Regions from separate parts of the Homo sapiens genome. Here region 2 is linked to region 1. Evidence: promoter capture Hi-C in human tissues and cell types (Jung and others, 2019). All regions are on one chromosome and are shown on one strand. Each heading gives the region's core, a stretch centred on a gene start or on the middle of the fragment in contact. The rest is flanking DNA. Distances are from core to core; before and after follow the strand shown. Region 1 holds the start of PLD4 (phospholipase D family member 4). Region 2 overlaps BRF1 (BRF1 general transcription factor IIIB subunit).

The links. The method cuts DNA at HindIII sites, captures the fragments that hold promoters and counts their contacts. A contact is called where the count stands out against the background at its distance.
Region 2: a contact is called between a fragment that was not itself captured here and the fragment with the promoter of PLD4 in region 1, in 1 of the 25 tissues and cell types used here (dorsolateral prefrontal cortex).

What each region holds. Positions count from the first base shown.
Region 1 is chr14:104,921,288-104,928,285 of GRCh38, reverse strand. PLD4 (phospholipase D family member 4) reads right to left here and starts at 3,407. Exons shown (of 11, transcript NM_138790.5): 1 at 3,296-3,407; 2 at 1,056-1,145; 3 at 420-613. The coding sequence starts at 1,145. RefSeq lists enhancers at 2,573-3,082, 3,065-3,234, 5,629-5,678. The HindIII fragment of the contact is 18,191 bases long and covers 1-6,998 here.
Region 2 is chr14:105,285,191-105,292,188 of GRCh38, reverse strand. It overlaps BRF1 (BRF1 general transcription factor IIIB subunit), which reads left to right. Exons shown (of 18, transcript NM_001519.4): 2 at 5,813-5,893. Among named protein-coding and RNA genes, the nearest start is that of BRF1, 12 kb to the left of the region's middle. RefSeq lists an enhancer at 5,368-6,266. The HindIII fragment of the contact is 6,229 bases long and covers 2,071-6,998 here.

The DNA of each region.
Region 1 (6,998 bases), core at 2,158-4,657:
GTTTCCAGGGGATGTGTGCAGGATGGCCCAACAGGTTCCTCCGGGGCAGTCCTGGGATTCCAGGACCCCAACCGCAGGGAAAGAAGGGTGGGAGGGAAGGATGAGGGGCGGCAGGGGACAGTGACATTACCCCCAGGGGTGGAAGGACTGAGGGGGTGAGCCTCAGCACAGGCAGTGTTCTCCAGCCTGTCAGAGCCCCCAGGTGGCAGCCTCTGTTTGCTGCAAAAAGCACCACACGCCTGCCCCGTCCCCAGCCCCCACTCCAGCTCATATGGTCGTGGCCCTCCCTGGTGACCTGCACCTTCCTGGAGGAGCTGGTAGAGGGCCCCCCTTATCTCACGGGCAGATCCAAGGGCAGAAACACAGGCAGCAGCCCCAAACTGAGACCTGCCCCCGCAGGCCTCCATGGGCTCACTTACTGGCAGGAGTCCCTCTGCTGCCTGGCCTCTGCTTCCAGGGGCTCCCAAGCTGGGCTGGAGCCATGCTCCCAGGACCTGGGCACGTCCTTGGGCTGCACCTGGCCCCAGGTGGGAGGACGGGGCACTTGCCACAGGAGGCAGATAAGAGCCACGGAGCCCAGCCACAGCACAGCCAGCGCTCCCAGGACCTGCAACTGGATGGGGCAGCACCCGCAGGGTCACCAGACAGGGCGGGGCTTGACTTCTGGCTGGGCCACGATGGCCCCTCCAGTGCTGAGACAGAGACCGTCTTGACTTCCCGGACCTGGGCTGCCACTGGGGTGGGACTAGGGTGGACAAGGGAGAGGGGAGGGTGATACAGAGAAGGCCCCCAGCCCAGGGTGGTGGCAGGGGTCAGGGGGCCTGCAGCCCACTCTGCAATGCTGTGGCTCGTGGTAACTGGCTGTCCCCAGCACCTCCAGCAGGGGCATAAAGGGAAGGTCTGGAGCAGCCCAGGGAGGCTTCCCTTGCCCACCAGTCAGGGCACCTCTGCTTGGAGGCCCCCTCAAGGCTGCTTGTGACCTCTCCACTCTGGCTCGGAGCTCTTGAAAGGCCATTGATCCCAGCCACCTCCCCCCTGGGGCCCCCCAGTCCTACCGTGCCAGCCTCTCTGTCCCACGGGCGGCGGGGCGGCATGGAGCATGGCCATGTGGGGGCCACTGCTGCTTTCCAAAGAGGCTTCAGCATCTGCACAGGGCAGCCTGGCATCACCAGCAGCTCCAGCTCTGCCCAGAACTGCCCCTCAGTGCCTGGGCAGCTGGGCACTGGGGACACCCCTGCACAGACACCCACATAAGCCCCCAAAAGCCCCCCACTCATGCCCGAGGTCACGCCCTGGATGTTGGGGGTGTGCTTTCCACGAGGACAAGCCGTGTGGGTGTTGGAGCCCGCAGCCGGCCACATGTCACCTGTCCTGTCCCCCTGGCCAAGCCGGAAGGACTGCTGTTAAGGCGGTCCCCAGGGCTGAGCCTGGGCCAAGCACGAGGGGCGGGCGGGCGTCTGTGCCTAGCCACATGCCCCGGCTTTCTGTGTCTCCCCTTTCAGGGTCTCCCACTCAGTGAGTATCTAGGTATTTGCATCTCAGTTCCCTGTTTCAACCACAACTGAAACTGCGTCTGAAAGGGCTGTTTCTGCTTTTGTCGCTTGGTCCTCTTATTGCTGGCCTATAAATAACTGCTTCCCTCCTGGGCTGGGCTCCTGTCTTGGCCCCACGGCAGCCCCTCCAGAGAGCCACAGGTCAGAGGGGGCAGCTGAGCAGTACCCTTGCTGGAGAGGCTAGGCGTGGAGAGGGCAGAGATGGCGGCAGAGTGGGACCCCTACTGCTGGCAGAGGGGGTTGTCCTCTGCTGCAGGGACTCGCCTTATCTCCTCAGAGTGGTCACCCCACAAGGAGCTGGGAGCCAGGCCATCTGGGCCCTGTGGGATGTGGGCTCCCATCCCCACTCCTACCCCCAAAGCAAGCAGTCAGGCTGCCCCAGGTGCCACCATGGGGGAAGGGTGCCTCACAAGTACAGAGGCGCCCTCCCCGGGTGCAGGGAGGGGTCTGTGCCCAGCATGGTCACCTGGCTGGCCAGCCTCTGACTGAGACATCCACCAGGGCAGGAGCTGGCTGGCCCCTGGCTGGGATGGGGATGTCTCCGAGGTTTGGGGCCTGGGCCTGGGCAGTGCTGAGTGCCAGTGTCTGCAGCCAGGCTGGGCGCTGGGACCCAGGGCTCGGTGGGTCGGCTGTCCACCCAGGAGCAGCCAGCTCAGCCTCCAGGCCTCTGGGGTTCGTCTGGGCTGTCCTCCCACGGGTCAGGGCTGAGGGCTTTGAGAACCTGGCCTGCCTCAGCATGGGGCGGAAATGCCAGGAACACCACAGGAGTCGGGCCTGGACTGAGTCTGCCCTGGAGACCAAGCGTTATGGGGGATTGGGGGTAGGAGCATAAACCAAGTGTGGGGACAGGGGACTCAGGCCAAGTCACTGCGGCCCAACTCCCCCCACGCTGGGGGGTCCTGCAGAGGTGGGTGGGTGCCGCCCCCACCCCAGAGCTGAACTCTGGGGGATGCTCCCCCCACCCCACAGAGGAGACCTCAGGGTGCCCACCGTGTCCCCACTGTCCCCAGGGATTCAGGGCCCAGCATCGGGCCTTTGCTCTCCCCCACTAACTCTCAGAAGAGGAAACATGGAATCCTGGGCTGTGGCTGGTCAATGAGAGGAAACATGGAATCCTGGGCTGTGGCTGGGCAACGAGGTGCCAGGGCTGTTCTTGGACAGCTGCTCCCCACACTCCCTGCCCTCACCAGAGAGGACCTTTGCTCCCTTAAATGCTCCAGGCAGACGGGCAGCTCAGAGCACAGAGGCGCTGCCTCTTGCAGGCCCCATCTCAGACTTGGAGCCTGTCCAAGTCCCCTCCCAGGACTACAGACCCCAGAGCGCCTCACCACCTCCTCCTGCAATGGAACCTGGGAGGACCGCCAGCCAGGTTGGCTCAAGCTGAGAGACCCCTGCAGAGTAGGGCTGTAGCCCCCTGGTCCCATGGTAGATAGCGTAAGACCCTGCAGACATCAGAGGTCATGGCTGAAGGTGCCAGATTTCCTGCCCTGCAGGGCATTAGGCATGGCTGCCAGTCCCAGGCTGAGGTAGAGGGCCCAGCTGTCACCTGGCTGGAGAGCCAGGGCCCAGCTTATCCCAGCTGCACGGACTGGGGACGGAGCGAGTCATCTACAGGACTAGCTGGAGGCTGTGTGACTCTCTGGACCTGGGGTTGCTGGGAGGCTGAGGCCATAGGGAGGCAGACAGCAGCCCTTTCCCCATGCCTGGCTTTTCTCAGCTGCCCTGGCCTCATTGGCACATACCTCTGGGGGTCCTGCCTTGGTGTCTATCCTGATTCCAGCCGCAGACTGCAGGCCCTCAGCTCACGGGGCAGGCTCGGTGCTGCCTGTGCTCCACACCAACCTCCTCTTCTCTGCAGCTCACCTCCTCCTCTCTGCAGCTGGCTCCTTCCCCTTCCAGCTACTTCCTCTTTGTCCTGAGAGGCCCCCTCTCATCTGAGACAGAAACAGACGGCTGGAGCTGGGTGGGCGGGCTAGAGGGTAGGGCTGAGAACCTTCACCTCCAGGAAAAATCTACACCCCACTCCCTCGAGGTAGAGGCCCTCCAGTTGCGGGCCTACGAATCGGAGTCAAGTTCAGCTGCAGGCCACAGACACCTAAGGAACAGTGGCTTCAGCAAGGTTGTTCATTACTCTCGAACACTAAGCAGGTCCAGGGGCTGGCAGGCTAGAGACGGCCTTGCTAGAGATGATGGCATTGCTCCACTGCCATTGGGAGCCAGGCTCTCAGATCCCAGTCCCTAGGATCCCTGCCTTCATGGCCTCACAGTGGCTGCTGGAACTCAGCCATTGCCTCTGTGTTCTTAGCAGAGAATAAGGGACATCCCAGAGGAGACTTCCTGGAAGTCCCACAGGGCACTTCCACTTATCTGTGATCTGGAACTTGATCTAGAACTTAGTCACATGGCTACACTTAGCTGCAAGGGAGGCTGAGCAATGGAGGTAACTAGGGTCTTTATCTTGGAGAACGAAGCTGGGGCTGCTCACTGGCATATCTGAAAAGGTGGGCCTGGCTAGAAGCTCCTAGCAAGGGGCTCTGCCTCCCACTGCCCCACCCCCCGACTGGGGTCCCTGAGTAAGGTCTGGGACCTTGAGAACACTCCTACTTTCAATGAGGTCTGGGTGTCCACCCTGGCTCCTCCTTGTAAGGCCTATGTAGGGCAGGGGTCCAGGGTGATGGCCTCAGGGTGCCTGCAGGACACCAGTCAGGAGGGTGCAGTTCCCAAGGGTGGGGCCTGTCAGCTGCACCCCTGGGGCCAGTCTGGGTGGGCCAGGAAGTGAATGGGGAAGAGATCCATCCTCTCCCTAGCCCCTCCCAGATCTCTCTTCACCTTCCTGATGCTCTGATTTGGCCTTGGGTTCAGCCCTTACCTCCCGGCCATGGTTGGGGAGCCCCAGCCCTCTGGCTGGGTTGCTGGATGCCTGAATGCAGCTGGGCCCCAGGCATGCCCCCGAGGGTTGGGTCCTCCAGGGACTCTGGGTGAGGGTTACTCTGGGTATGGGGAGGGGCAGCCAGGTGGGTCCTGCTGTGACATTTGCAGGGCTGGGGCATGAGTATGAAGGGAGGCTGCCTTCCCTGCACTCAAGCAAAAGGCAGTTAGACAGAACAGGTTCTCTTCTGTCTTTTTTTTTTTCTTTTTCCTTTGAGAGAAGTCTCGCTCTTGTACCCCAGGTTTGAGTGCAACGGCTTTATCTCGGCTCACTGCAACTTCTGCCTCCCGAGTTCATACGATTCTCCTGCCTCTGTCTCCCAAGTAGCTGGGATTAAGGCACGTGCCACCACGCCCGGCTAATTTTTGTATTTTTTATTAGAGACGGGGTTTCACCATGTTGGCCAGGCTGGTCTCGAACTCCTGAACTCAGATGATCCACCCGCCTCGGCCTCCCAAAGTGCTGGGATTACAGGCGTGAACCACAGCGCCCAGTCTCTTCTGTCTGGACAACAATGGTGTGTGAGGGCCTGGAAGGCCAGGGGCAAGTGGAGGACCCCAGGGCTCCTTGGAGCACTCTCAGAAGTCCTTGCAGGAGGGCCAGCCCCAGCCAGTCCCCTCTCCGATTTCCCCACATTGTGAGGGGCCTCAATGAGCCCACATGCTACACCCAGCCCGTGGGTCTGAGCTCATTGCAGCCCCAGAAAAGCACCACGTCACCTCCCCTGGCTGCCCCTCAGGCCAGCAGGACTGGGTACAGCTCAGGCAGCTCTACCTCGGGAGGATGGATCCAGGCTTGGGGATGTTTAAGCAAGGAATCCTGGGCCTTGGGCTCAGGGTTCGGTGGACTGTCCTCTTGGCCTCTCAGGCTGCTTACCCTGGAAGAAAGATTGAGGCTGGAAGGGGCGTCTAGATTCGGGACCCAGGGCAGGCCTCTCAGTGGCTCCGAGGCTGGCTGTGTGGCCAGGAACGACCTGAGGGCAGCTCCTTGCCGGCTCTGCTCCCTGCGCTGCAGGCCCCACCCTGAGGTCTAGGGCCCTTTGGTCCCATGGGGTGTGGGGAGGGACTTTGGGGATTTCCCATGAAGCAAAACTTTTTTTTTTTTTGAGATGGAGTCTTGCTCTGTCGCCCAGGCTGGAGTGTAGTGGCGCCATCTCGGCTCACTGCAAGCTCCGCCTCCCAGGTTCAGGCCATTCTCCTGCCTCAGCCTCCAGAGTAGCTGGGACTACAGGCGCCCGCCACCATGCCCAGCTAATTTTTTGTATTTTTAGTAGAGACGGGGTTTCACCGTGTTAGCCAGGATGGTCTCAATCTCCTGACCTCGTGATCCACCCGCCTCAGGCTCCCAAAGTGCTGAGATTACAGGCATGAGCCACCGTGCCCAGCTAGTGCATATGTGTTTCTAGTTATTATATCTTCCTTATGGATCACCCTCTTATCATTATAACACATCCTTCTTTGTCTCTAACAATAATTTTTGTCTTAATATCTATATTTTCTGATATTAGTATAGGAACTCCACCTCTCTTTGAGTTGCTGTTTGAATGTTATATCTTTTCCTGTCATTTTACTTTTTTTTTTTTTGGACGGAGTCTCGCTCTGTCGCCCAGGCTGGAGTGCAGTGGTGTGATCTTGGCTCACTGCAAGCTCTGCCTCCCAGGTTCACGCCATTCTCCTGCCTCAGCCTCCCGAGTAGCTGGGACTACAGGTGCCCGCCACCACGCCCAGCTAATTTTTTGTATTTTTAGTAGAGACGGGGTTTCACCGTGTTAGCCAGGATGGTCTCAATCTCCTGACCTCGTGATCTGCCTGCCTCGGCCTCCCAAAGTGCTGGGATTACAGGTGTGAGCCACCGTGCCCAGCCTGAACATTTTTTCTTTAATTTCCTTTGTTATTTCAAAAATTAACTTTGTGGGAAAATATGACTCATTATTTGTCAGCAGAGCTAAGTTTTTTGTTTTTTTTTTTTTTGTTTTTTTTTGTTTTTTACCCCAAATAAGTACAGACTGTCAGAGCAGGCTTGTGGGAGCACTTAAACCCCACCGTAAGCACATCAGACACACCTCACCTCATGGTGGAGCTATGTCCTGATAAGCCCATCATAAATGGAAGCTGAAAATATTCTAAGTTGATAATGAAGAAAAAAAGAGAGACAACCCAAATAACCAAAACCAGAAACAAAAAAGAGACATTACAACTGATATCACAGAAATACAAAAGATCACCAGAGACTACATGAGAAATTATACACTCAGAAACTGGAAACCTGGAGGAAATGGAGACATCCCTGGACACGCGTAGCTGCCGAGATTGAATCAGGAAGAAACAAAAAAACCCGAACAGATCAATAAGGAGTGATGAGATTGGAACAGTAATAAAAATCTCCCAACAACAACGCAAAAGGCCTATAGACCAGATGGCTTTACTACTAAATTCTACCAAACTTACAAAAAAGAACTAATACCATTTCTCCTTAAACTGTTCCAAAAAACTGAAGAGGAGGGAATTCTCTCTGAC
Region 2 (6,998 bases), core at 3,936-6,435, 360 kb before region 1:
ACAAACAAAGAAAACAAAAAATAAGAAAACATTAGCTAGGCGTGGTGGCGCATGTCTGTGGTCCCGCCTATTTGGGAGGCTGAGGTGGGAGGATTCCTTGAGTCCGAGAGGTTGAGGCTGCAGTGAGCCGTGATGGTGCCCCTGCGCTTTAGCCTGGGTGACAGAGTGAGACTTCTTTTTTTTTCTTTTTGAGATGGAGTGTCTCTCTTGTTGCCCAGGCTGGAGTGCAATGGCGCAATCTCATCTCACTGCAGCCTCCGCCTCCCGGGTTCAAGCGATTTTCCTGCCTCAGCCTCCCAAGTAGCTGGTATTACAGGCATGTGCCACCATGCCCGGCTAATTTTTGTGTTTTTAGTAGAGACGGGGTTTCGCCATGTTGGCCAGGCTGGTCTCAAACTCCTGACCTCAGGTGATCCACCCGCCTTGGCCTCCGAAGGTGCTGGGATTACAGGCGTGAGCCACCACGCCCGGCCAGACCCTGTCTCTTAAAAAAAGGAAGTTTCACAGCAGCAACAGAAAGTCTCCAGTTAAAAAAAAATTTTTTTTTGACAGAGTCTTGGCTCACTGCAACCTCCATCTCCTGGGTTCAAGCAGTTCTCCTGCCTCAGCCTCCCGAGTAGCTGGGACTACAGGAGCACACCACCATGCCTGGCTAATTTTTTTTTTGTATGTTTTAGTAGAGACGGGGTTTCGCCCTGTTGGCCAGGCTGGTCTTGAACTTCTGACCTCAAGTGACCCACCCACATCGGCCTCCCAAAATGCCGAGATTACTGTCATGAGCCACTGAGCCCGCCCCCAGTTAAGTTGAATGAGCACGTGAATATTAAAGGTTATTGCTTTCTCATGTTGGAAGAATCCTGGTGTGAAATGGACAGTGCTGTGCTGGGTCTTTCAGGACATGGAGGGCCCCTGGCCCGCCTTTCTGTCTGTTCGGCGGTATGGGGTGTTGCTGGCTTTGTCGGAGCTCAGAGGTGCCCCTGCGGCCTCTGGCCCTGCTCTGGCTCTGGTGGAACCGCAGGTCCTCCCTTGCTGTACACAGGGGGGCAGTCTTGGCCAGGCCCCACAAGACCTGGCCCCTTCCACATGTCAGTTCCAGCTAACGGGAACTAGCACATATTTTTTGTTATAGAAACACGCTATGGAAAATACCAAATGTTTTTAGAAGTAGAGGGCATCCTGGCAGTTTCAGCCAGAGGTGGCACTTTCCTCTTTCATCCTCCCTGTGGGTTAGTGTTCTGAGGTTTCACACTGTCCACATGTGTCCTGTGTGTGTGTGCCTGCAAGTGTGCACGCACCAGGGTGTGAGGCAAGCAGAAGCCAGGAGGCGCTTCCAGAGCAGGTGCAGCAGCGTGGCCCCAGGGAGGGTGACTGTGGTGTTGGGGGACAGGGAGAACAACACAGGGACAGGAAACAGAGGTCCTGGGGTGTGAGGAGGGTATGGGAGGCTGGAGGGTGCAAGACAGAGTGATGGAGGAGGGAGGGCAGAGGTGGCAGGTGGAGCGTGGAGCTGCTGACGCATGCAGCTTTGCAGTGTGCTGTGGTGCAAGCTGATGGGTATGGGTCAAGGAGTGAAGAGATTGCGTAAAACACAACCAGAATCGAAATCATCACTGTAATTTAACGTGGCATCTCACTGTGGCCCTGTTCTGTCAGAAGCACGCCTGCAGCCCACTGTACCTAGGCAGGGAAACGTGGCTATAATGGAGGCTGTACGGCGTCCCCTGTTCTTGGAAGGTGGGGCTTCAGGGGCTTTTTATTTATTTGTTTTTGAGATGGAGTTTCGCTCTTGTTGCCCAGGCTGGAGTGCAATGGCGCGATCTCGGCTCACCACAACCTCTGCCTCCCAGGTTCAAGTGATTCTCCCGCTTCAGCCTCCTGAGTAGCTGGGATTACAGGCATGTGCCACCATGCCTGGGTAATTTCATATTTTTAGTAGACACGGGGTTTCTCCTTGTTGGTTAGGCTGGTCTCGAACTCCCAACCTCAGGTGATCCAACCGCATCGGCCTCCCAAAGTGCTGGGGTTATAGGCGTGAGCCACTGCACCCAGCTGGCTTTTTATACTTTGATCATTGTCCTTTTTCTAATGTAGTGTTATATGAGTTATTTATTAAAAGCATTATATACACTAATTAGAATATAGTGAGATTTTTCTTTTTCTAAAGTGAAAGTTGGTGAGGGAGCATGTGCTGGAGACCAGCATGCCAGGGGCTACACAGAATGGTGATCTTAATTCGAACGCTTAGAAAAAACAGGCGGGGCGTGGTGGCTCACGCCTGTAATCCCAGCACTTTGGGAGGCCGAGGTGGGTGGATCACTTGAGGTCGGGAATTCAAGGCCAGCCTGGCCAACGTGGTGAAACCTCATCTCTAGTAAAAATACAAAAATCAGCTGGGCGTGGTGGCACGCACCTGTAGTTCCAGCTACTCAGGAGGCTGAAGCAGGAGAATTGCTTGAATCCGGGAGGCGGAGGTTGCAGTGAGCCGAGATCGCACCACTACACTCCAGCCTGGGCGATAGAGCGAGACTCCGTCTCAAAAAAAAAAAGAATACACACTGCTCACAAAACAAAGAACTCTGAGGGAGGGTCGGAGTTGCAGGCACCTGGAGCTCAGCCTGGGGAGGCCTGGGCCAGATTTCTGCAGAATTTAGAATTGGCTCATCAGTGCTGCTCAAAGCCCCCTTATTCCAGGATGGGTCTCTCCTGAGTCCTGCGTTTCTCCCTGGCCTCTCTTCTGGATTCTCATATCAGCAGGCACCTCACTGTGGCCCTGCCAGGTCCTCTCCAGCCCCCACAAGGAGACACCACTGCGACCTGCTCCAGCTTCTGTTTAGTTTATTATTTGTTCAGACAGGTTCTCACCGTGTTGCTCAGGCTGGAGTGCAGAGGTGCATCACAGCTCACTGCAGCCTCCACCTTCTGGACTCAAACGATCTGCCTGCCTCAGCCACCTGAGTAGCTGGGACCACAGGCATGCCCTACCATACCCCGCTCATTTTTTTTTTGTAGAGATGGGATCTTGCTATGTTGTCCAGGCTGGTCTTGAACTCCTGGGCTCAAGCAGTCTTCCTGCCTCAGCCTCTCAAAGTGCTGTGATTACAGATGTGAGCCACTATGCCTGGCCTGTTCTAGCTTCTTTTTTTTTTTTTTTTTGAGACAGGGTCTTGCTCTGTCACCCAGGCTGGAGTGCAGTGGCACGATCTCAGCTCATTGCAGCCTCGACCTCCCGGGCTCTAGTGATCCTCCAACCTCAGCCTCCTGAGTAGTAGGACCACAAGCAGGTGCCACCACACCCAGCTAATTTTTTTCAGTTTTTTTTTGTAGAAATGGGTCTCCCCCCATCCTGGCTAACACAGTGAAACCCCGTCTCTACTAAAAACACAAAAAATTAGCCGGGCGTGGTTGCAGGCACCTGTAGTCCCAGCTACTCGGGAGGCTGAGGCAGGAGAATGGCATGAACCCAGGAGGCAGAGCTTGCAGTGAGCCAAGATCACGCCACTGCACTCCAGCCTGGGTGACAGAGCGAAACTCTGTTTCAAAAAAAAAAAAAAGAAAGAAAGAAAGAAAGAAATGGGTCTCCCCGTGTTGCCCAGGCTGGTATTGAACTCCTGGGTTGGGCGATCTTCCTGCTCCGGCCTCCCAAAGTGTTGGGACCACAGGTGTGAGCCACCATGCCCGGCCACCACTCCAGCTTCTTTTTTACTTTATTTTATTTTTATTTTTATTTTTATTTTTTTGAGACGGAGTCTTGCTCTGTCACCCAGGCTGGAGTGCAGTGGCACCATCTCTGCTCACTGCAACCTCCACCTCCTGGGTTCAAGCGATTCTCCTGCCTCAGCCTCCTGAGTAGCTGGGATCACAGGCACCCGCCACCACGCCTGGCTAATTTTGTATTTTTAGTAGAGACAGAGTTTCACCATGTTCGCCAAGATGGTCTCGATCTCCTGACCTCGTGATCCACCCACCTCGGCCTCCCAAAGTGCCGGGATTACAAGCGTGAGCCACCGCGCCCGGACCTTCTACAGCTTCTTGAAAGCCACTAGGTTTGTGGCAATTTTTATGGCAGCCACAGAAAACTAGTACATAGATCCCAGTTGTGACAACCTAGGTAGTCTCCAGGCACTGCCCCCGTCCCGGCACCACCTTTGTTGGAGGCCTGTGCTCAGTGCTGGTGCCCTGCTGCTGCTGCCGGCCACCCCTGTGGCCACGTTACCCACCAGGAGGCCGGCTCTGGGCCTCAGCCTGAAGGAGGCCCGGGCTTTGCCTCTGCTGCCACCAGGAAAAGCTGAGTGCCACCTGACCCTGTTCAGCTCTGAGTTTCCGGACGGGCCCAGTAGCTGCCCCTTGCTCTCTTCAAAACTTTTCTTGGCTGCTCTAATTCCTTTTTGCTTCCAACTGAACTTTAGAATCATTTTACTGGAGTCTTTAAAGAGTGTTGTTAGTATTTGTTTGGGATTCAGTTACATTCATTGTGAAGCCAGAGGCCGTGCCTGTTCTGCCTTGTCTGTGCTGGTGGCTGCCCCTGGATGACGCTGAGGTCCCTGCCTCATGGTTTCCCTGGAGGGCCTGGCCCCAGGCTCCAGCGATTGGCTTTCTGCTTCTGCATCCTATCCTTCCAGTGTCCTCCGACAGGCCCTACACACTTGCCTTCCCCCAAGTGGCCAAGGTTGTCTGCGCGTCCCGATTGCAGCAGCCTCCAGTCCTGTGTCTGTGCTTTGTCACAAATGCACTGGCCCCTGTGCCAACCACTGAGGGCCGACGCTGCGGGGCGGGGGGCACTTTCCAGCTCTCCCCATCTTTGGGCATGCCTGGGGCCTCACCTTACTGTTCTCGTTGGAAGATCAGGCCGCAGCGTTTGGGTTGGTGAACCTGGTGAACAATCCACATGTCCACCATGCTCATTGGGAGATCAGGCTGCAGCGATCGGGCTGGTGAACCTGGTGAACAATCCAAATGTCCACCTGATGTTTCCAGAGGTACCAGGGCCAGGTCTTAACCCCGAAGCCCTGCAGGGCAGAATGTGGTGGACGTCGTAGGCATGCTGTCAGTTGGCAGAGCTTCGGAGTAGAGTGTCCAGCAGGTTCAGCTGCAGCCTCCCCATGGGTGGGTGGACTGAGGCGTGGGGGCCTTCTGCAGACTGGCTGGTTGCAGTGCCTTGGGGCACATGGGATGGTACCTGCGTCCCCTGCAGTCCAGCAGGGAGGTGGATGTGTTCACATGTGGTCACCATGCAGGAGTGATATCTGAGTGGGCTGGCCTGGGGCAAGGGGGACGGCCAGCCCATGCTGTGTGTGCACCACTTGCAGAGGTTTGGAGGTACATCTGTGTTCTCGCCCGGCAGCCATTTGACAGCGTCCACTCTGGACTTGCAGTGTGTTAGGGACATGGTTAGAAAATGCAGAAAGTGCCTGTAATCCCAGCCGGGCGTGGTGGCGGGCACCTATAGTCCCAGCTACTTGGAAGGCTGAGGCAGGAGAATGGCGTGAACCCAGGAGGCGGAGCTTGCAGTGAGTGGAGATGGGACCACTGCACTCCAGCCTGGGCAACAGAGGGAGACTCCGTCTCAAAAAAAAAAAGAAAATGCGGAAAGTGCAGTTGGCCCACCCTCAACCCTGCTGGCTGGGCAGAGTGAGAGATGCTTCCCCCACTGGGGTTCCTGGCTCAGTGACGGAGGTGCGGGGGGCCGACCTGCTGCTTCCCCCATGAGTGCTGACCCCCGCTTTGTTCTCACTTTGTGTCTGTGGATGTTAGGAAAGGGTTGTAAATGCAGATCTCCAAGTTTTGGCTGATCTGTCTTTTTTTGTGTTTCCAGGTGCTGGCAAAACCCCGACTCTGGGTGGCGGCTTCCACGTGAATCTGGGGAAGGAGTCGAGAGCGCAGACCCTGCAGAATGGTATTTCCCACCGCGGATGCTGCTGAGCGTGCGGCGGGTCCCAGAGATGGGGATGGTGGTGCTAGGGTGGAGGGCACTGACTCAGCCATGGACCTCATGGCCTGCCACTTCCTCGTCACCCTGCACGCCCAGCCCAGGCTGCTTTCCAGGAGGAATTGTGCCCTGAGTCCCCTCCTGGGTGTCCTGCAGACTCTGCCAGGGCTGTTTGGGGAGAACCCAGTGGATCCCACAGGATCCACAGCCATTGCTTGATGGCCTCAGTGAGATGGAGGCAGAAATAACACATTTATAGCAGTTGGATATTGTAGTGACATTCTCACTGCGTTTTGTCAAAGTGCCAGTTCACCACAAACTGGAGAAATGTCTGCTGGGTTATTTGTCTTATGATTGAGTTGAAAAAGTTCTTTATGTGTTTTAGGTACAAGTCTTTTATCGGATGTGTGATTTTATATATTTTAGGTGCAAGTCGTTTATCGGATGTGTGATTTTATGTGTTTTAGGTACAAGTCTTTTATCGGATGTGTGATTTATAGGACATTTTCAGCCATTTCATGCGTTCTTTTCATTTTCTTTTGTCTTTTTATTTTTCGCTGGTATCCTTTGGAGCATGAAAGTTTTAAATTCTGATAGTATCCAGTTTACCTATTTAGTCTCTTGATGGCTGTGCTTTTGGTATCATAACTAACAAATGTTGCCTAATCCAGTCCAAATCGTGAAGATTTGTGCTTATGATTTTTTGGAGTTTTGCGCCTTCCTCTCTTTCCAGTAGGTTTTGGTCCATATTGAGTCAGCGTTTGCATGTGATGTAAGGTAAGGGCCTGCCTTCACTCCTGCACGTGCAGACCCAGTTTTCTCAGGACCATGTGTTGAAAACACTGTATTTTGCCAGTTGGCATCCTCTTGGTGCCCTTGCTGAAAATCGATTGACCGTAAACCTAAAAGCTCATTTCTGGATCCTCAGTTTGGCTTAGTGACTGCATGACAGTCCTGGTGCCCGTTCCACGCTGTTCAGGACACTGAAGCTTCGCAGTCAGTTTTGAAATCAGGAACTGTGAGTCCTCTAACTGCTCTCTTTCAAAAGTGTTATGCTGCCTGTTTGAAGTCC